Regions from separate parts of the Homo sapiens genome. Here all the other regions are linked to region 3. The links are contacts of gene promoters, found by promoter capture Hi-C in human tissues and cell types (Jung and others, 2019). All regions are on one chromosome and are shown on one strand. The core of a region is centred on a gene start or on the middle of the fragment in contact, and the rest is flanking DNA. Distances in the headings are between cores, read along the strand shown.

The links. Contacts are between HindIII fragments. The study calls those that stand out against the background at their distance.
Region 1: a contact is called between a fragment that was not itself captured here and the fragment with the promoter of FARP1 in region 3, in 6 of the 25 tissues and cell types used here (IMR-90 fibroblasts, dorsolateral prefrontal cortex, mesenchymal stem cells and 3 more).
Region 2: a contact is called between a fragment that was not itself captured here and the fragment with the promoter of FARP1 in region 3, in 3 of the 25 tissues and cell types used here (dorsolateral prefrontal cortex, mesenchymal stem cells and thymus).
Region 4: a fragment that was not itself captured here is called in contact with the fragment with the promoter of FARP1 in region 3 in 5 of the 25 tissues and cell types used here (IMR-90 fibroblasts, hippocampus, liver and 2 more).

The regions. Positions count from the first base shown.
Region 1 is chr13:98,268,511-98,273,574 of GRCh38, forward strand. The region is part of intron 2 of FARP1 (FERM, ARH/RhoGEF and pleckstrin domain protein 1); the gene reads left to right. Among named protein-coding and RNA genes, the nearest start is that of MIR3170, 63 kb to the left of the region's middle. The HindIII fragment of the contact is 9,127 bases long and covers 1-5,064 here.
Region 2 is chr13:98,221,879-98,227,222 of GRCh38, forward strand. All of the region lies in intron 2 of FARP1 (FERM, ARH/RhoGEF and pleckstrin domain protein 1), which reads left to right. Among named protein-coding and RNA genes, the nearest start is that of MIR3170, 16 kb to the left of the region's middle. The HindIII fragment of the contact is 6,407 bases long and covers 1-4,902 here.
Region 3 is chr13:98,140,835-98,146,368 of GRCh38, forward strand. FARP1 (FERM, ARH/RhoGEF and pleckstrin domain protein 1) reads left to right here and starts at 2,260. Exons shown (of 27, transcript NM_005766.4): 1 at 2,260-2,658. LOC105370328 (a long non-coding RNA gene) reads right to left here and starts at 3,076. Exons shown (of 3, transcript XR_931670.4): 1 at 3,005-3,076. RefSeq lists silencers at 1,711-1,760, 2,001-2,310. The HindIII fragment of the contact is 5,274 bases long and covers 1-4,535 here.
Region 4 is chr13:98,246,572-98,251,649 of GRCh38, forward strand. All of the region lies in intron 2 of FARP1 (FERM, ARH/RhoGEF and pleckstrin domain protein 1), which reads left to right. Among named protein-coding and RNA genes, the nearest start is that of MIR3170, 41 kb to the left of the region's middle. The HindIII fragment of the contact is 3,624 bases long and covers 1,993-5,078 here.

The DNA of each region.
Region 1 (5,064 bases), core at 51-2,550, 130 kb after region 3:
AGGCTGGAGTGCAGTGGCGCGATCTCAGCTCACTGCAACCTCCACCTCCTGGGTTCAAATGATTCTCCTGCGTCAGCCTCCTGAGTACCTGGGATTACAGGCGCCCACCAACACGCCCGGCTAATTTTTGTATTTTTAGTAGAGACAGGGTTTCATCATGTTGGCCAGGATGGTCTCGAACTTCTGACCTCAAGTGATCCTCTTGCCTTGGCTTGCCAAAGTGCTGGGATTACAGGTGTGAGCTACTGCATCTGGCCTTTCCCTTCTTTGTGTGTGTGTGTGTGTGTGTGTGTGTGTGTGTGTGTGTGTATACAGCTTCCCAAGTAGCTGAGACTACAGGTATGTGCCACCACGCTCGGCTAATTTTTATTTATTTTTATTTTTTTATTTTTATTTTTATTTGTAGAAACGAGGTTTCGCCATATTCCCCAGGCTGGTCTTGAACTCCTGGGCTCAAGGGATACTCCTGCCTTGGCCTCCCAAAGTTCTGGGATTACAGGCATGAGCCATCATGCCCAGCCTCTCCCTTCTGGTAGCTGAGTTAAGGGACTCTGTGGATGGCTTTATTGTGCAGCTATAGTATTTAATAAATATTGGTAATTTACTGGCTTTGTTTTAATATTAAAATTATGGTAAAATGAACTGCCCTGACCCTTGATATGCTTGTTTCTACCCTACCTTCCCTCAGTCAGTCAACCTCATCTAAATATATCTCCCTGCAGTTCTAATGGTGATCTTTCTAGGTGAATGTCATGAGCTGCTTTTTGATGCTCTTTCATTATCTGTGAAAAAGGATAAAAGTAGTTAAGTGGATAACTTAAGTATAAACAAAATCTTCATGGATTCTTTTAGCAGGAAAATGAGCTTGAATTGAGTGGTCATTTCTGTTCATTAAGTTCAGATTTTGAGGCCCTCCCCGCCAAGATGATTCTAGTTACTAGTGCTTACATTCGTGTACTGTGTTCTAAGCCATTTGGCATCTCAACAGACTCATCCACAGCAGCCCTATGAAATTGATGGGGCAGATATTTCTATTTGCTTTTGGCAAATGAGGACATGAGGCTCATGAGGGGCCTGTCAGGCCCAGAAACACTGAACCTTGTCCCACTCTTGGGTCAACATAATATTTAGCTTTCAGTGACTGCTCATTCTTGACCTTGTTGTTTGTCAAGGAAGGGGTTGGGGAAGAGAAAATTTAATTTGTTACTATTTTTCTTAACTACTGGGACTATATTGCCTGAGTGAGTGGTCGGGGGGTGTCAGCGAAGATGTTGGTTCAGGTAAGAATAAAATTCAGTTGTTATTTATTTAAGACTTACCATGGGCTGGGCCCAGTGGCTCACGCCTGTAATTCCAGCACTTTGGAAGGCCGAGGTGGGTGGATCACTTTGAGTTCAGGAGTTTGAGACGGGCCTGAGCAACATGTCTCTACTAAAAATACAAAATTAGCCGGGCTTGGTAGTGCACGCCTGTAGTCCCAACTACTTGGGAGGCTGAGGCCAGAGAATCACTTGAACCTGAGAGGCGGAGGTTGCAGTGAGCTGAGATCACTGAATCTAACTGAAAGGCTTTTGAGAATAGGTAATTTTATAGAAGGAGAAATGCAGTACATAAAATTGGCTTTATGTTTATCTTGAATACCAAGAAAATTGTTTTTCTTGGGTAAATTTAGGTGATTTTCCAGTGGTGCTTTCTTGCACATTTGACCATAGAAGAACATGTGTTAAGCCCATCCCTTCTCATTTGGTCAAGGTCCATCCTTGGTCTCTATGACAGTTGAATGAAGATTGAGCTGTTCACACATCCTCAGTAATATACAAGTAGTATATCCGTCAAAAGGGTTTTGTGCTTATTTTCCAAGAGCTCTCGGTGCTCTAAATTCTTTATATGAACATGTAAGATTGCACATCTGGTTTTAAATGTGGACATGGGCATTGTAGGGTCCTGGTTTTTAAACTATTCATGACTTACAATGCCTCAGCGTATCTTCCTTGGGAGAATTCATTTTGTTGAATGCTCATCCTGAGGACGCAGCTCCCTTCCTAGAAATGAGGTAGCTCCTGGCACCTTGAGAGTTCCTCTGTGTGCAGGAAACCGATGAGTTTGCAGATACCAGCTTCATGATAGCCTGACTGAAACTTGTTGAGGAGCAATGCAGGATGGTGAATATTTTCATGATCTAGATCAGTTAACTCATCCTGCACATGGCTAACTTTATGTCATGAGAACAGATTTCTTAGCCTGAGAATTGGGACAACTTAGAAATTGGGAAACTAAGCATGTATATCTTTTAATTTTTTTCTTTTCTCTCTTCTCTTCTAAATGGAACATTCACGCAAGGCAGTGTACAGAGATGGTGTGGTATACTGCAGAGAGCAGGGGCCCCGAGGGCAGGCCAGGGTACGAGTCTAGATGCCACCCTCTGAGCCATCGTTTCTTCACGGTTTTACATTGCTGTCCTCTGAATCAGAAATCATGATGTAAGACGAGGCGAATTGCAGTTGTGTGAGCTCTCTTTTCATGAAGACGATTATACATTTTGCTGATGTCTCAATAATTTCCCAAGTCAGGATGACAGAAGAGCTGAAAGCAGCCTACTTAGGATTATTCAAGGAAATGAAAGAACTGTTTCCTTCATTCATAAACACCTGAGAGTCTGCTCTGGCTTAGACACTACGCTAGTTGTTGAGAAACAACTCAACAAATTAGGCCGAGAATCTGCCCTAATGAAATCTAGAGTTTGGAAGAGAGAACACATCTACAAACCAGCACACGGTGACGACTTTTTTCCAAGGACCCACTTGGCGTCATTTGCTAAATGCTCCTCTTAACGGTGGTGAGTCTTATCTCCTCTTACATTGACAGTACTGACAAGTATACATATATATATTTTTAAATTTTACTTTAAGTTCTGGGATACATGTGTAGAACGTGCAGGTTTGTTACATAGGTATACATGTGCCATGGTGGTTTGCTGCACCCATCAACCCGTCATCTAGGTTTTAAGCCCCACATGCATTAGGTATTTGTCCTAATGCTGTCCCTGCCCTTTCTCCCCACCCCTCGACAGGCCCCAGTATGTGATATTCCCCTCCCTGGGTCCATGTGTTCTCATTGTTCAGCTCCCACTTATGAGTGAGAACGTGTGGTGTTTGGTTTTCTGTTCCTGTGTTAGTTTGCTGAGAATGATGGTTTCCAGCTTCATCCATGTCCCTGCAAAGGGCATGAACTCATTCTCTTTTAAGGCTGCATAGTATTTATGGTGTATATGTGCCACATTTTCTTTATCTAATCTATCACTGATTTGATAGACTGTATATCAGTATATCACTGATTTGGGTTGCTTCCAAATCTTTGCTATTGTAAATAGTGCTGCAATAAATGTACGTGTGCATGCTTCCTTATCATAGAATGATTTATAATCCTTTGGGTTTATACCCAGTAATGGAATTGCTGGGTCAAATGGTATTTCTAGTTCTAGATCCTTGAGGAATCGCCATACTGTCTCAAAATACATTTTTTTTTCTTTTTCTTTTTGAGGTGTAGTCTCGCTCTGTCTCCCAGGCTAGAGTGCAGTGGTGCGATCTTGGCTCACTGCAACCTGTACCTCCTGGGTTCAAGTGATTCTCCTGCCTCAGCCTCCCAAGTACCTGGGATTATAGGCGCCTCCCACCACGCCAGTCTAGTTTTTGTATTTTTAGTAGAGATGGAGTTTCACCATGTTGGCCAGGCTTGCCTTGAACTCCTGAGCTCAGGTGATCCGCCCACCTCACCCTCCCAAAGTGCTGGGATTACAGGTGTGAGCCACCTCTCCTGGCCAAAATACATATTTTTTAAGTACCTCAAAATAGCCCTTTTGCACGCTAATGGAAAGCCCAACAGTCATTATGATAGAGAATAATCTTCAGTAAAAGATAAGGAGGAAATTTTAATTTGGGAACCCGTTCGTGAAATGCATACCCTTCTGTTTTCCCTCTGACTTCCTTGTCCTTTGTGTTTAGGAGCTTAAGGGATCCTTCTGTTTAAGTCACTAGGGGCTCAATATTAACGTGCAGATATGTGGGGAAAATGTCACTTGTTTGGTTGCAGTTTTGCCAGCTCTAAAATCAGTTGGTAGTGGCTGCCTGGAGTATCTTGTCCTGAAAGATTGGGAGTTTGAATTGAGGATCAAAGGGGGTGTCAGAGATTAGTGATGTCTTCTGTCAGGAGGGCTGGTTGCCATGGTTGCTACCCTGGCTTGAGCTCCTATCAGCTCACATTTCAGAGATGATTAGTGAGGATTATAAGGATTGGGCTCAGAGTGGGGCCATGGGGCAGAAAGAAGACACTGGCTGAACTATTCTGAACTCTTAATGGGCACCCAAAACAAGTATGTTCAATTTTGTCAAAAGCTAGAAGGGCCCTGGCCACACTTGTGTTAATGGAAAAACCAGACTCCATAAAATATTCTAAAGAGGTATATTCTGAGCGAGTATGAGAGACTGGGAAACGTAGTCTGAAGAGGTCCTGAGAAAGTGCGCCCAAGGTGGTTGGGTTACAGTTTGGTTTTGTATATTTCAGGGAGACAGGAGTGCAGGTGAAGACATGAATCAATACAAGGTTAGTATGCGTTGGTTTGCCCTGAAAAGGTGGGATATCTTGAGGCAGGGGCTTATAGGTGGATTCAGAGATTCTTCAATGTGTCATTGGTTAAAAGAGTAAAGCTTTGTCTAAAAATGTGGAGTCAGCAGAAAGGAATGTTTAAGATAAGGACGTCTGTTAACCAAGATACTGGGTCAGAGTCACCTGTAGGGATGTGGGACTTAATCCTTGTCTGTTTGGCCTTAGGTCCTTTGATGTCTTGCTGTCACAAAGAGTCTGTTTTGCGAATCTTATGATCTCTAGTTTAACATTAATGCTGGTCAGTTGTGCCTAAACTCCAAAAGGGAGGGGATGTAACGAGGTATGTCTAACCTCCCTTCCCATCCTGGCCAGGAATTCAGTTCTTAAGGTTCTTCTGAGGTCCCGTTAGCCAAGAGGCGTTTGTTCAGTTGGTGGAGGGCTTAGGAATTTCTTTTTAGTTTA
Region 2 (5,344 bases), core at 449-2,948, 80 kb after region 3:
TGTGTTAGAATGTAAATATAAAAACATTGCACATATTAAATGGACTGATTTTAAAAAACTATCTGCCATGTTTGAATGTTCAATTATTTGCTGTCTTCTATCACTTTGAGCATTTGAGCTGGAGGTAATGATTTTAACTCATAAGACAGACACAGAATGACTTAGTTTGGGATTTCTCTTCTGTAGATAGAATGATCATGTAAAAGAGCAGTTCTCAAAGCTGTTAGCACTTTGTAACTTTGAAGGAGAGCCTCATAGGTCTCTGTTTCCTCATTTATACAAACAGGAAGTTGGACCAGATACCCACAGTGGAATTCTGTGGCTCTGGTTTTATTTTATGGAATGTGGTCTTGGAAACATGATACGGGTTTCACAAATGTGTATCAACATGGAAGGCAAGGTGCTACTGGTGATAAGAAAATGAATAAAAACAATAACTACCCTCTGAAAAATCCCTTGCTGTGTGCCAGACATTGTGCCAAGTCTGCCCGTACATTATCTCATTTGTTGCTAAGTGAACCTGTGAGGCAGGTGAGAATAACACCGATTAGTCTCACAGGGCATAAGTGACTTGGCGCGGGTCAGAGTGCTGGAGAGAAGGAGCTGGAGTCCCAGCCCAGGACCACATACACCTAAGCCTGTGTGTCACTCACTTTGTTAATGGTCTGGGGCCATAAAGAGCCGTTAGGATAATACAACATGTTGGCTGTGCTAGTGCCTGTGACAGGTGCCAGTGGAGGGTGCTTTTTTTTTTTGTTTTTTGAGACGGAGTCTTGCTCTGTTGCTAGGCTGGAGTGCAGTGGAATGATCTCCGCTCACTGCAACCTCCGCCTCCCGGGTTCAAGTGATTCTCCTGCCTCAGCCTCCCCAGTAGGTAGGACTAGGACTGCAGGCGTGCACCACCATGCCCAGCTAATTTTTTTTTTTTTTTTTTTTTTAAGTAGACATGGGGTTTCACCATGTTGGCCAGGATGGTCTTGGTCTCTTGACCTCGCAACCCGGCTGCCTTGGCCTCCTAAAGTGCTGAGATTACAGACATGAGCCACCGTGCCTGGCCGGAAGGTGCTCTTAAGTGGGCAGGATGGGTTGAAGAGGGCGGAGTCTGCAGAAGGAAAGCCCAGTGACCAGGGTTTTGGCAATATCATCTCCACATGGTAGTTACTGATAAGGGCCAGGGCCCTGCAGAAGCAATGTCAGGGGACTGACAGATACAGGAGAAACCCAGGACGTAGACCTGACAGGGCGTGGCAGCTGATGGGACAGAAGCAGGGAGCCCCCCAGGAGTGGGAGAGCACCTGCAGTCATCAGTTTTACAGCCTGGATGGCTCAGTGCTGTCACCAAGGGCTGAGAAGTCAACTCTGTGACAAATGTTTTACTTGAAATAATGTCTTCCTTCAGTTGACATGAAAGGAACATTGGTAGTGTTGCCAAAAGAAGGCATTTCTTTTTGTTTGTTTGTTTGTTTGAGACAGAGTCTTGCTCTGTCACCAGGCTGGAGTGCAGTGGCACGATATTGGCTCACTGCAACCTCCGCCTCCGGGGTTCAAGTGATTCTCTTGCCTCAGTCCCCCGACAGCTGGGACTACGGGCACCCGCCACCATGCCCGGCTAATTTTTGTATTTTTTAGGAGAGATGGAGTTTCACCATATTGTCCAGGCTGGTCTCGAACTCCTGATCTCAGGTGATCCACCCGCCTCGGCCTCCCAAAGTCCTGGAATTACAGGTGTGAGCCACAGCGCCTGGCCATAGAAGACATTGCTTTGTTTTTTATCACAAAGAATCTGTGGCTCTGGAAATTAACTTCCAGGATTCTTAGTGATTATGTAAATGGTACAAACTGGAAGTAACAAATGGAAGTTGATTGCTTGGTTTCAATTTATGTTAGGAAAGTTATTTTTACTTCTTGCATTCCAATTTCCTCATCTCCCCAGAAGCTACTCTGTTAAGCTTGCCACACCTGGGTGCCCACCAAGCTGGAAAAGCATTTAGATCCAGTGTTTTCAAAGGACTCTGTTCAAAAGCATTAGAAAGGAGCAGGTCAGTTGCTTTCTTCAGCTCATTGTTTAGTTTTGATGTAATTTGCCTGTGACATGAACTATAAAATGCAATTGGCTATTATCCCATCTTCCAGTGGCCATTTGTCAGTGAGTATTTCTGCCAGCAAACAGAACTCAGGTGCTCCATTTCCTTTGATCTAGGCATAAGACTGAGTGTGTAAAGCATTGCAGAGCAAGACCAGAGGGCATTTGTGGAGTTGTTAGGTTATCACAACAATACCTTTTTTCATGTTTGAAAGCTGAATTACTTTCCCAGGGCAGCCATAACAAAGTACTACAAACCCGTGGCTTAAAAAATAGGCAGTTACGGCCAGGCGTGGTGGCTCATGCCTGTAATCCCAGCACTTTGGGAGGCCGAGGCAGGTGGATCACGAGGTCAGGAGATCAAGACCATCCTGGCTAACATGGTGAAACCCCGTCTCTACTAAAAATACAAAAAATTAGCTGGGCGTGGTGGCGAGTGCCTGTAGTCCCAGCTACTCGGGAGGCTGAGGCAGGAGAATGGCGTGAACCCCAGAGGCGGAGCTTGCAGTGAGCCAAGATCGTGCCACTGCACTCCAGCCTGGGCGACAGAGTGAGACTCTGTCTCAAAAAAAAAAAAAAAAAAAGAAAAAAAAAAAGAAAACACAAAACAATAGGTAGTTACTATCTTACAGTGCTGGAGGGGCAGGTGAAACAGAGCTGAGTCCCTATCTTCTTGACTACCCATCCCTTGCCAGGGACTCCCATTTGCTGACCCCAACCAGAAGCCCCAGAGTAAGAGAGCTGAGGTGAGCAGTTTGTGGAGCTGGGCCTGCAGGCAGGCAGTGAGAGAAGAGCCAGGGCACCCTCTGTGGTTGGAGGCGACCATGACTTCTGCCTCACAGAGAACATGAAGGCTGTGAGGCGTGGGCTGCTTCCACCCCTGCCTCGCTAACCTCAGGCTCTCTTCCTCTGCCTTGGCTTCCATTCCTGCATTCTCTGGCCACGGGATCCTTTTTACCTCCCGACTGATCCTTCATCCCTTCACCTACAGGACATGGCTTCACATGGCAGGCATCAATAAGAATACCTTTCATTCACACTTCAGTCCTGGGATTCACAGACATGCTCTGAATTTCTAGACGGTCTTAGCAGTAGAATTCAAATGATGAAGAAAGAGACTGCTTTGTGTAGTAGTCACAGCATAAGTTGAATATAAGAGCTGAAAAAACCTCAGATGTTACTATTAACCATCTTATCTCTTAGCCTGATCATTTTTGTAAGGACGAAGATGACATATTTTATTAGAGCTGTTAAACGGGACGTCTGGTTTCGTGATCCAGTGCCGAGAACAACTCTTTTCCTTTTATTGACTTGATTTCAGTTGCATTTCACAGCTCATTGCACCCAAGTAGATTTCTCCACGATGATCAGACCTCCTGTGTGTCGCCCACAGGACTGAGCTGCTTGGACTCGCACCATTCCTCTGATCATGCCCTGGGGTTTATTACGATCTCACCCATTATTCCCATCACACGAGGAGAACTCTCGCTCCAAGTACAACAGTACGAGTGTTTGCTAACTGTGGACTCTGCACTCCCTCATGAAACCAAGAGTGTTTCTTCTTCGTTTCCCTTCCTTTCCATTTTAAGGACCATTTCTCTAAGGCAGACTTTCCCGTCAGGACCCTCCCCTGCCTTGTGTCTCTTTTGAAGCTCCTGAAAGGCCCGTGGCCATCTTAGAAAAATAAAGTTCTGATTTTCTCCAGAAAACTGGTTCAGCAGAAACCAAGACACTGCCAACAGCCCTCCGGCGTCCTGCCAACCGGGCTGTTAGAGTCTTTATGTGGGTAGGTACAAGTTGCCTTGCTTAGCTTCCAAACTTATTTTTGCCCTCTTGTCTGGCTCCTAAAATGCTGGATCCAGGGGCCTGGAGAGTTGGTTTTGTCTCTGGTTATTGTTTAGTGGCACACAAGGTACTGACTGAAAACAAGGGCGTTTTTGTACATCCCTTTTACCCACATGCACTCTTGGGGAGGTCAGTGATGGTTGGAAGTCCCTGCTGGCACCGTCTCTGCCATAGCATTGGGGGAGCACTTTAGTTGTCCGTTTTTCCAGGCTAATCCATTCCTTAATGACTTAAGTTGACATTTGTTGAATTATGGAGTACGAGTTCGCTAGCACTGCTATAACAAAGTACCACAAACTGGGTGGCTTGAAGAATCTCAGTGTATGGTCTCAGCTCTGGAGACCAGCTGTCTGAGATCAAGGTGTCTTCAGGGTTGGTTCCTTCCAAGGGTTGTGAGGAAAAGCTGGTCCTGTGCTTCTCTCCTGGCTCCTGGAGGTTTGCTGGTAATCTGTGGCATTCCTTGGTTTATAGATACATTGCCTCTGTCTCTGCGGTCATCTTCACGTGATTTTCTTGCTGCGCAAGTGTTTCTGTATTTTCCCCTTTCGTAAGGACATGGTCATATTAGATTAGGGCCCGCCCTACTGACTTCATTGCAACTTGATCATTTTCAAAGACCTGATTTCCAAATAAGTTCATACTCACAGGTACCAGGGATTAGGACTTCATCTTTTTTTTTTTTTGTGGAGGAGGGGAGATGTAGTTTAACACAACTGTATAACAACTCCCATTGTTTTATTTTAACAAACCGTTTGAAAAATGGCTGTGCTGTTGACTGCTGCTGTGACTTCTAGCTGTGTAACTCATTTCCCCAGTTTTCTGCTCTTGTTCTTTTGGAGCATAATGTAGTCTGGGACATTTTCCCAGTAAGTGGAGGAGACCAGAACTCTTAAATCACATGTATGTGTACTTGGAATTAGAACTGAAGTACGGGTGGCCATATGAGATGAGAAATCCCAGCTGTATTAATCAAGTGAACTGTAAGAGCGATTGGTTTTTTTTGTTGTTGTTTTTGAGTTATTTTTCTTCACCATCACTCTCCCACCACCATTTCCCGGTGGATCAGTAGTGGGAGAGTGCGAGTTTGAAAGCTACCAGGAGCACCTCTCAACCAATCATGTTGCATTTCTTTCTTTCTTTCTTTTTTTTTTTGAGATGGAGTCTTGCTCTGTTGTCCAGATTGGAGTGCAGTGGCACGATCTCGGCTCACTGCAAGCTACGCCTCCCGGGTTCACGTCATTCTCTAGCCTCAGCCTCCTGAGTAGCTGGGACTACAGGCGCCCGCCACCATGCCCGGCTAAGTTCTTTTGTATTTTTAGTAGAGACGGGGTTTCACTGTGTTAGTCAGGATGGTCTCGATCTCCTGACCTCATGATCCGCCCGCCTTGGCCTCCCAAAGTGCTGGGATAGCAGGCG
Region 3 (5,534 bases), core at 1,010-3,509:
TAACATGTAGAAAATGTCGGTCTTGCAAAGAGAGTGACTGGGAAAATGTCACTTTTCTAATTTTCTGCGCTTTCTATGATTTTTTGCTTTTATTATTTTTATGATTTTTTTTTTGAGATGGAGTCTCACTTTGTTGCCCAGGCTGGAGTGCAATGGCACGATCTCGGCTCACTGCAACCTCTGCCTCCCGGGTTCAAGCAATTCTCATGCCTCAGCCTCCCGAGTAGCTGGGATTGCAGGCGCGCACCACCACGCCCAGCTAATTTTTGTATTTTCAGTAGAGACGAGGTTTCCCCATGCTGGCCAGGCTGGTTTACAAGTTCCTGACCTCAGGTGATCCACCTGCCTCAGCCTCCCAAAGTATTGGGATTACAGGAGTGAGCCACCGCGCCCGGCCTAATTTTTTCCTTTTAGTTGGGAGGTATGACATAGCACTTTGCTACTACGTGTAGTCCTTGGACCAGCAAGTAACACCTGAGAGCTTGTTAGAAACAGTCTCAGACTTACTGAATCAGAATCTGCATTCCAACAAGATTCCCTGGTGATTCAGGTATACACTAGAGTTTAAAAAGCCGCCTACAGCAACTGTTCTCAAACCTGGCTACACACTGGAATCACCTGCGGAACTTTACTGATGCCTGGGTTAGAATCTTTATATATTTGGCTGGGGTGCAACCAGGGTGTTGTTTTTTAATCGCAGATGATTCCATGAGTTTGAGACCCACTGTCCTAACACTGTGATCCTCCAAGTGTGATCCCAGGACCAGAGCAACATCACTATCTGGGAATTTGTTAGAAATGCAAACTCTCAGGCCCCACCCCAAACCTACTGAATCGGCAGCTCTGGGGATGGAGCCTGACAGTCCTTTATCCCTGCAGGCGATTCAGATGCTTGCTAAGGTTTCATTAGGTAGGTCGGGGATGCGGCCCAAGAATGTTCATTTCTTGACGTTTCCAGGGGCTGCTGGTGGTGGTCGTGGTCTGAGAACCACACTTAGAGAATCACGAGCAGAAAAAAATCTGATCTGTGACACACAGCTGGTTGGGCTGACAGAGCAAAGCCTCAAACCCACCATTTCTTCTCTTCAACCACAGACCACCAAATCTGCAAGTATTACATCTCTGCTCCTCCCCAGGAGCTGCCCACAAGCACCCCCTACTTCCAAGACCCCTGTTCTTGTCTCAACCCGCCCTTCTATCAGGGTCCCTACACTCCACTTCTGCCCAGCTCCTGTCCAGCTGTGAGTTCACTTGAGGCCTCTCCCGTGAAATCTGCCCTCTCGGTCTGAGGTCAGGGAACTCCTGTAAGACGCAAAAGGCCCACGGTTCTGAGCCAGTGGCCTCCGAAGGCCGGAATCCGCTAGCCCCGGGTCTGGCAGAACGTCACTTGCTGCGCCCTAGGCCTCTTCCCGCCACGCTTAGAGAGAGGGACTGGAGGCTCAGAAGGGGGAAGAGAAGGTAACGCGGCAGCTGCTGGGTGGGGACGGTGACTGTGCCCCTAGATCGCTGCCTCCTGGGTCCTGAATCTTGCTCCCCGCTCCGTAGAGTTCCCGAAACCCCGAAGGCTCTCAAGCACCGCAAGCCACTCCTAACCTCCCCCACGCCATTCCCCAAGGGCACTGTCCCCCGAGGCTGGGCGGGCGGGAACTGTCATGGGATTCGCTCGGGCGGAGGGCGCTGGGCCAGGACGTGGGCGGGCGCGGGGTGGCCGCCGCTCCCCCAAGCTTAAGTCCCGCGCAGCCCGGGGTGGTGCCGGAAGCCCGTGCCTGTGGCTCCGGGGGAGGGGAGGGCTCGGTGGGTCCCTGAAGACTGTCCTCCCCGCGCGACGTCGCAGGCGAAGCAGCCCCAGGCAGGACCTCAAAAAGCGACCTGCAGAGTCCGAGCCCCTGACCGCCCGCCTGCCGCTCCCGGCTTCGCCGTGCACACGTCTCCCGCTCTCCCCGGTTCGTTTTTCGCCACAGCTGCTGGATTCGCGTCTCGCCAGTGGCGCTCCCCGCGCTGCATTAGGTAGCGCCGCGCGGAGCCCGGCCCTGGCCGGAAGCCCAAGAGAGGCGCAGATCCCCGGCGGCGCGCTGGGCTCGGGAGGCCCCTGGGCGCACCTGCCCGGGCGGAGCGGAGCGGGGCGGGGCGGGCGCAGGGCGCGGGCCCGGACGCTGGAGGGGGCTGTGGCTCTCCCGCGTCCCCGCTGCTCGGGCTGCGCGGCGCCCGCCTCCCCCCGCCGAGGGGCCGGCCCAGACCCGGGGAGGGGCGGTGGCCACTGCACTTCCCGCTCGCCGGCCTCAGAGGCGGCGGGTCCGGCGCGGGCGCAGCGGTGCGGGCGCTCGGCTGGGGCGCGGGGCGGGGACGCGGCCGCTGCCCGCTTTGCGCCGCTCCTCCCTGCGCGAGTAGCGCTGGCCCCGGCGTCGAGGCGGCCATGGCGACCCGGAGCCCGCTCCCCACCCACCCCGCCTGCTCCGCCCTCCCCTCCGCCCCGCGCCACCTTTGATGGCTCGGACCTCAGCCGGCCACCGCCAGCCCTGCTCGCGCGCCCGCGCCGCCGCCGCCCGCGGGTATTAATAGCCGGCGCCGCCGCGCCCTCGGCCGCCGGGGGCTTGGGAGCCGCCGATCCCGGAGCCCGAGCCGGGAGAGGGAGCCGCCGCAGCCGCCGGCGCTGTGGAGGTAGGAGGCGCGCGGTGAACAATGACCGCGGCGGGAGGGCGGGGGCCGGCGGGGTCCGGGCCGCGGGCGGCAACTTGTGCGAGTCCAGGCTCCCGCAGCGCACGGCCGCGGCTGCGGGCGAAGGTGGGCGCGTGGTCCCCGAGGTCCTGCCCTGCGCAGTCGGGCGGCGGGTCGGGCCCGGGCAGCCCCGGCCACCATCGCAGGAGCTCGGGGGCCTCGGGGCTCCGGGCTGCCCCCTGCGCCCCTCTCCCCTCACCTCCGCCGACGTCGGGCTGCGGGGCTCCGCGCCGGTCCCCGCTCGCCTCCCCCGACCCCGGCGCCCTTCCCCCGTTTCCTTCCGTCCTACCCGCCCGCTGACAGCGCTGGACGCCGCTTCCGGACCTCGGGCCGCAATCTCGGCCCCTGAGGCCGGTTGCGGGCCGGGGAGGTGGCCGCTGGCGCGGATGCCGCCGGGTGCCCGCCGCTCGCCCACGCGCGGCGCGAGGGTTCCCGGCGGGTGACAAAGAGGAACACACCCTCTGCCCAAGTTAGATTTGTGTCTCTCTTTACTGTCTGCCTTTATGCAGGGCAAAGTTTTTTTTATTTTTTATTTTTTAAAGCAAAGGACAGATTGCTTTGCGGCGAGTATTTCCAAACAACTTCTGATTGTGGTTTTACGATTCAAGTTCCGGAAACTTTAGCTGTGTGATCCGGCTGGACCCCGGAGACTCTGTGTGTGTGTGTGTGTGTGTGTGTTTTATTTGAGGGGGGGAAATACGAATTCCCTGTAATGAGTCTGGATCTCGTTTGTGGCAGCTGGAGGCCAGCGGCTGTTGGGGATCGAGTAGGGTTCCCCAGAAAGGAGGGAGCTGAGGCTCACAAAGAAGCGAGGCCCTGGTATCTGATCAGTTCGTGGAGACGTGGGAGAGCCTGCTTGTCATCTGGAACAGTTTAGCAGCCTCGGCCTCCCTGTCTCTCCCAGCCCTGGGGAGTACCGGTGGCCTCTGGCCGTTTCATTATATTGTTGTTAAGGCTCTTCTCCTTGTCAGTTTACCAGGTTTGACCGCCCAGCCCTGGTCTCTGCGTGGAAACCCCCGGGGGCCCCTCTCCTTCCAGTAGGCAACATCTTCAGAGCCAAACCCTGGCCTAGCACTGGCTTCTGTTTAATGTGCTTTGCACGTGGTGACTTGCGGAGCCCATTTCAGAACATCCTCCAGCATTGTCTTGCTTTTCTTATTCAGTCTGAACAAGGAGAGGAGAAAGAAACATCTTTCTGGTCCTGAAAGCTTTAGGGAGAGTTGCCTTAAAAATTGGCTTCGTTGTTCCGGAGACTTTAGGAGGGCCCTGCTTCATCCTATCTTTGGCTTTCTCCCTCCTTCCACAGTGTTCTCGTAGGGGGTTTATTCTCAGTCTTTCGGATGGGTTGGTCTCCAGGATGTGACAGTTTCTGACAGTGTGCTTCATAAGTGGGTACAGCTAGCACATGGCTCACTTTATATTCCTGCAGCATCGTTCTGCAGCAAGGCATCAATATTGGAGTTACTCCAAGCACAACGAAGCGTTTGTGTTTTTAGAATGTCTGGCTAATAGATCTGCTTCTGGGTAAAATAAATAGAAGCATTATTGGGCAATGGCTGCTTTACTGAGGGAATTGTTGGTGGAGACAGTGAGTAGATGCCTTCCTAGCCCAGCGCCTCCCAGAATCTCTTACTTGTTTCTTTTATGTGAATGGGAAACTGGAAACCCTCGGTGTGGAGGTGGCTGTGCCTCCTAGGGGCAGATTCTATGGTGCACCACCCCGCCCCCGTTACTTGGGGTGTGGTGTTTCATTGAGAAGTTCTGTCACTGTGGGAATCCTTTTGAAGCGTGGTTTCTAATGCCCCCTTTCACATTGATATTCTCTTCCTTTAATTGATACAGGGATGGATTTATTCCTTGCTTCATAATAGAATGTTAACTTTACTCTGTAGCCAGACTTATCAAAGAAGATCTTAAAATAATTATCCTGGACAAGTTTCTTACTGGGTTATTGCATTCACCTCAGAATTATCCAGAGTTTACAAGGAACCTGGAGGAACGTTTTTGTTTCACTTTTCGTTAAAGAAACTGTCCAAGGGGGCTGGGCATGGTGGCTCACACCTGTAATCCCAGCACTTTGGGAGACCGAGGCGGATCACTTGAGATCAGGATTTCCCAGCCTGGCTAATATGGTGAAACCCTGTCTCTACTAAAAATACAAAAATTAGCCAGGGGTGGTAGCAGGTGCCTGTAATCCCAGCTGCTCAGAGGCTAAGCCAGGAGAATCGCCTGAACCCAGGAGGCGGAGGTTGTAGTGAGTTGAGATTGGGCCACTGCACTCCAGCCTGGGCAACAGAGTGAGACTCTGTCTCAAAAAAAAAAAAAAAAAAGAGAAAAAAGGAACTGCCCAAGGAAATTGTTTTGTTTTGTTTTTTGGTTAAAGATACAAATAAGATAGCATTGAAAGGGTTAGTTTTTTTTAAACAGTGAAGCTTATACTCATTTAATTTATTGAACACCTAAGAGCTTAATTCATTTGGAAAATTGTATATATTTATGAGGAGGATGCTTGTGATAAACATCAGAAAAAAACAACTCTTTTCATCCTGGACGGGATTAGAGAATACTAGAGAAAGGATAAAAGGCTGGTTTCTGCAGGCAGAATATGCTTAGGAAAAATGGCATTGTGATTTTCCCAGAGGATAAGAGAAATTCTGTGGATTTGTAAGTACTGTACTTGCCTGATTTTTTTTTTTGAGATGGAGTTTTGCTCTTGTTTCCCAGGCTGGAGTGCAATGGCGCAATCTCGGCTCACTGAAACCTCTGCCTCCCAGGTTCAAGCGATTCTCCTGCCTCAGCCTCCCCAGTAGCTGGGATTA
Region 4 (5,078 bases), core at 2,555-5,054, 110 kb after region 3:
TTTGTGAGTGTTGTGTGTGTGTGTTTACATACTATACTCCCTCCTTCTCCTCTGGGGATAATCTAAAAAGCTCAAAGTTCTTAGTCCTGGGTACTGAAACAATGCTATAAGGGAGGCATTTAGAAAAGCTTAATTTTAACCAGGTACTTACACCACAAACAGAATGACATCACTAAGCACACAGCACGTTAGTGAACAGTGGCTTTGTCAGAGCTTTCTACCCAGAGCCCTGAAATGGAACATTGTTAATTAGCTTTAAAAAATCCAGCTGTTCCTTGAGCCCATGGATTCTGCCTGTGCACTTCCTGCATACAACCGTCTACACAGAACCGAGGGCTGGAACTCCTGTGTTTAAGAAGGCAGCTGTTCCTTGGCGGGGCACAGTTGCTCACGCCTGTAATCCCAGCACTTTGGGAGGCCAAGGTGGACGGATCACCTGAGGTCAGGGGTTCAAGACCCAGCCTGGCCAACATGGTGAAACCACGTCTCTACTAAAAATACAAAAGTTAACTGGGCGTGATGGCGCATGCCTGTAACCCGCATGCCTGTAATCCCAGCTATTCGGGAGGCTGAGGCAGAAGAATCACTGGAACCCAGGAGGCGGAGGTTGCAGTGAGCTGAGATCGCACCACTGCACTCCAGACTGGGTGGCGGTGAGACTCTGTCTCCAAAAAAAAAGTAGCTGTTCCTTTCTACACCTAGAAGACGATGCGTGCCATCTACCAATAGTGTCACGCCCAGGGTGTGTACTCTGTTGGTGGTGTGCAGCCTTCCACACCCCTGGCTGGGCCCACTTTGGCCCCCACATAGAGTTCTTTAACTGCCCTTTAAGAAAGTCACACTAAGCTCTAAATGACCAGGCCGGGTCACTAACGCAGACAGACACCCCAGTATGACTGGCTGGGCTATCCATCCCCGCAGCCCTGCTGGGGGAGTGGAGCTCACTGGGAGGACAGGTGGTGTGAAACAGAGAGAGCTATTTGAACTAACATGGGAGGAGGGAAGACGGAGAAGGATACAACAGACAGTGAGCTCAGGGCTCTGCTGGGATCCAGGGCAGGGGAGGAACCTTTCCCAGAGAAAGTTAGGAAGGTGAGCAAAGGTTGGTAGGTTGACCCCAGCTTCCACCTTCAACGGATTCCAGGCAGTTCACGAGGAGCCAGAGTGTAGATGATGCGGATTGGGAGCCGATAAGAAAGTCCAGGCAAACAGAAACAGAGAACAGGGGCAAGATGTCCGCAGCATCCAGAAGGAGGCCTCTTCACAAAGTGAATGCCACCAAGCCACGGATGTGGTCATCAGCTTCCAGCGATCCTTGTGAAGAGCTGTGTATTGAATGCTGGACACTTGATCAGCAGTCGTATGATAAGAATAAACCAGTTCTCAGAAGAGTCGCAGATTCCTGACACTAAGACCAGAAACACATCTCTGCCAAGGGTCCAAGAAGGAAACAAATTTTATGAACAAAAACCTTCGCAGCCTCTCTCAGCATCAGAGAGGCGGGTACCTCGGACCTGTCTTCCCAAACAGGCCAATGGGTGCAATCCCGTCCAGCCCAGCAAACAGCAACTCTAATGAGAGAAATGGGCCAATGACACCTCTGTCTAATATCTGGCATGAGTAAAGGATAGATTTTGCAGTACCTAGAAAAATAGTGAACCAGTTCTCTCTGAAATATTCTGTGATTTTTGAACTCTTTTCTACTGTATTTGGGTGGAATGAGATTTAATAGTGGACTCAGGGACACTGAGGGTAGAGGGAGGGGTAAGGAGATACCTCCTAGCAGTGATGTGAGCTGTTTCTCCCCGGGTAGAGGGCTTCCCCAAGGTATTTTCCTGTGGCCATAGACATAATACAGTATCCTTTTATAGGATGGGATAGTGTCAGGAAACAAAATGTCTCATGTTTTAAGAAATCATGAGAAGCTTCAGAAATACTTTTGGATATTAATGTTAAATCTAGGATATGCTGAGTCCTTACCACACTGGATAACACATTCTTCATGGATTCCGTATTTGTGAATCCACCTACTCCCTAAAATTTGTAGTCCCCAAATCAAGCTTGTGGTGCTTTCCTGGTCATTTGTGGACCTGCCCAGGATTACAGAAAAATGTGAGTTGCCCAATGTGCACATTCTCAGCTGAACTCAAATGAGGGTCTGCCTTCTTGTCTCAGCTCTCGCGCTGGAAACAGGTGCCTTTTTGATGATCTAGTTAGTGCCGTGATTTGTTTGCGTTTTCGTGCTTTTTGTTGGTGATTTCACTGTTTAAAATGGCTCTGAAGTGTAGTGCTAGAAGCACTGTCCAGGGTTCCTGAGCGCAAGAAGGCTGAGAATGTGCCTTACAGAGAAAACGGGTGTTAGGGAAGCTTCATTTAGGCATAAGTTCTAGTGCTACTTACTGGCCATTAATTCAACATTAATGAGTCAACAGTGTATATTAAGTAAAGTGTCTTTTAACAGAAACACACATTAAACAAATTTATATTGTTCAGTTGATGAGAATATGACAGAAGATCTCAGAATCTAATCTTGTATTTCTCCTAGACGCAACAGTTCAGTGTTCCCTAGTTCAGTGGTGACCATGTAGAGTGCAACTACAGCAAATAATGAGAATCGACTGTATTTCAACTAAGTGAGCACCCATGGGTGCTCATTTAGACGAATAGGAATTTTCAGGTATCTTTTGTGATGCTTTAATTGAATTATTTTACTGTTACAACTTTGCCTTTGGAAATATTGCAAGTATAGCTCCTTGTTAATGTACTTGGTGAACTTTTTTGGGAACATAAAATTTTTAATGATACGATACTTCTTTTATGTGACATGGTAAGAACTTAAACTCTTGTAAGATAGACGCTTTTTTGCAAGAGTGTTACAGCCCATTATTGAGGGAAGAGGTCTGATTTTTGCTTGAGGAATACATCATTAAAAAGAACTTCTGGTCTGCTTACTGTTTTACTTTTTCCTTGTGGCAACAGAGATATTTTGGCAGAAGTCTTGTGTTTCCCCACCATGTTCTTCACCCAGCTAATGGCCCATTGATGACACAGAAATTGTTTGGCTATTGGAATGATTAATGTCACTCAGGCCTATGTCTCGGGGAGGCAGGAAGGTAACAAGATGTACATCTCCCAAAGAAATATCACACAGGCCTTGTGTTTACACCTGTCTTTGAGCATTATAGAAGAAAAAAGACAGACGGAAACCTGAGGCCATACCGTTTCTTAGTGATGGTTCCCCGTGGTGGTATTGACAACATGAAATTCCAGGGGCAAATGAACAGTCTGGTTCCCCACCTCTCTCCCTTCAGTTACATATGCGATGTTTGACAGCTCCTTCCCCAAATTTCTTTTGGAAATCTTCAAAATTCATCAGGGTTTAGATTGTTGACCTGTTTTGAAAACCTAATTTTTAAGTTTTCAATCTTTTAAGCCTTGGAAAGGATAGGCATTTAATAAAAGAGAAAATAGATGATTTTATATGTATGAGAAAATACATCGCTTTAAATTTACTCGTGAGATTCACCAATGATTTCTGAACACCAAACATTGGGGTGGCCCAGTGACTTAATCGGAGAAACACAGACACTTTGAAAAGAAATGTGGGATTTAAAAACCTGCAAAACTGAGTCTGTCATTCTTTAAAATGCCATCTCAAGTCACAAAATAATGATGTTAAAATCTGAAACCATATGTGTTTTGAATGGTTTAGGTTCTAAAGAAAGGTACAATAATGCCAGTCTTTTGGGTTTGTACATGATTTGTTTCTTTCTCACATAATCTGTCAAAACTTTAAATTGTGAAATATGGCATATTTACAAAAGAGGCTATAAAAAGTGTAAGTATAGTTTAACAAATAAAAATATGAGGGCCGGGCACGGTGGCTCACACTTATAATCCCAGCACTTTGGGAGGCCGAGGCGGGTGGATCACGAGGTCAAGAGTTTGAGACCAGCGTGGCTAACATGGTGAAACCCCATCTCTGCTAAAAATACAAAAATTAGCTGGGCATGGTGGCAGGTGCCTGTAATCCCAGCTACTTGGGAGGCTGAGGCAGGAGAATCGCTTGAACCCGAGAGGCAGAGGTTGCAGTGAGCCGAGATCACACCACTGCACTCTAGCCTGGGCGACAGAGCAAGACTCTGTCTCAAAAAAAAAAAGAAAAGGAAAAAGAAAAAAATATATAACACTACCAGTATGGGCCACTCTCTGAAGACTTTTAACCCCCATCCCTTAAGAAGTAATCCCAGCCTAAATTCTGTGTTGGTCACTCATCTGCCTCTTTTTATAGTTTAACACATGTGTGTAATTCTAAACCACTGCATGATTTGGTTTGTAAATTACTGGTTCAGTGCCTGTCTTCCCCACTTAGCTGTAAGGAGAGGGATTGTGTGGCCCCTGGTCTTTGATCTGTCCTAGGCTCGAGCACAGTGCTTGGCACATAGCAGGGACTTCATAGATGTTTATGAACTTGTGAATACATAAATATGTTTATTCTTAGAAAAATGACGATTTCTAATATATGAATAAGGCACATACATGTGTGTACATTTGAATCATAAAGAATATTAAATCTTATTGTTGAACCATGAAGTTAAGTGGACAGCTGTTAGAACTGGAAGACCTGGATGCCCATTTCTCAAAGAAAGAAGTGAGGCTCAAACAGGTGCTTTGTCCAAGTTCATTCAGTTAGACGGTGGCTAAGGCGGGGCCACAGTTCATATCTTCTGCCTCCTTGTCTAGGATTCTAGGCCCTGTGCACTCTCAGGATGGTTTTATGCAAGAGATATAGACGACTTTATTTGCTTAATAGAAAGTCCCCACTGGGGGCCGGGCATGGTATTCTTACGCCTGTAATCCCAGCACTTTGGGAGGCTGAGGCGGGTGGATCACTTGAGGTCAGGAATTTGAGGCCAGCCTGGCCAACATGGTGAAACCCCACCTCTACTAAAAATACAAAAATTAGCTGGGCATGGTGGCGCACACCTGTAATCCCAGCTACTTGGGAGGCTGAGGCAGGAGAATGGCTTGAACCCGGGAGGTGGAGGTTGCAGTAAGCTGAGATCACGCCATTGCAC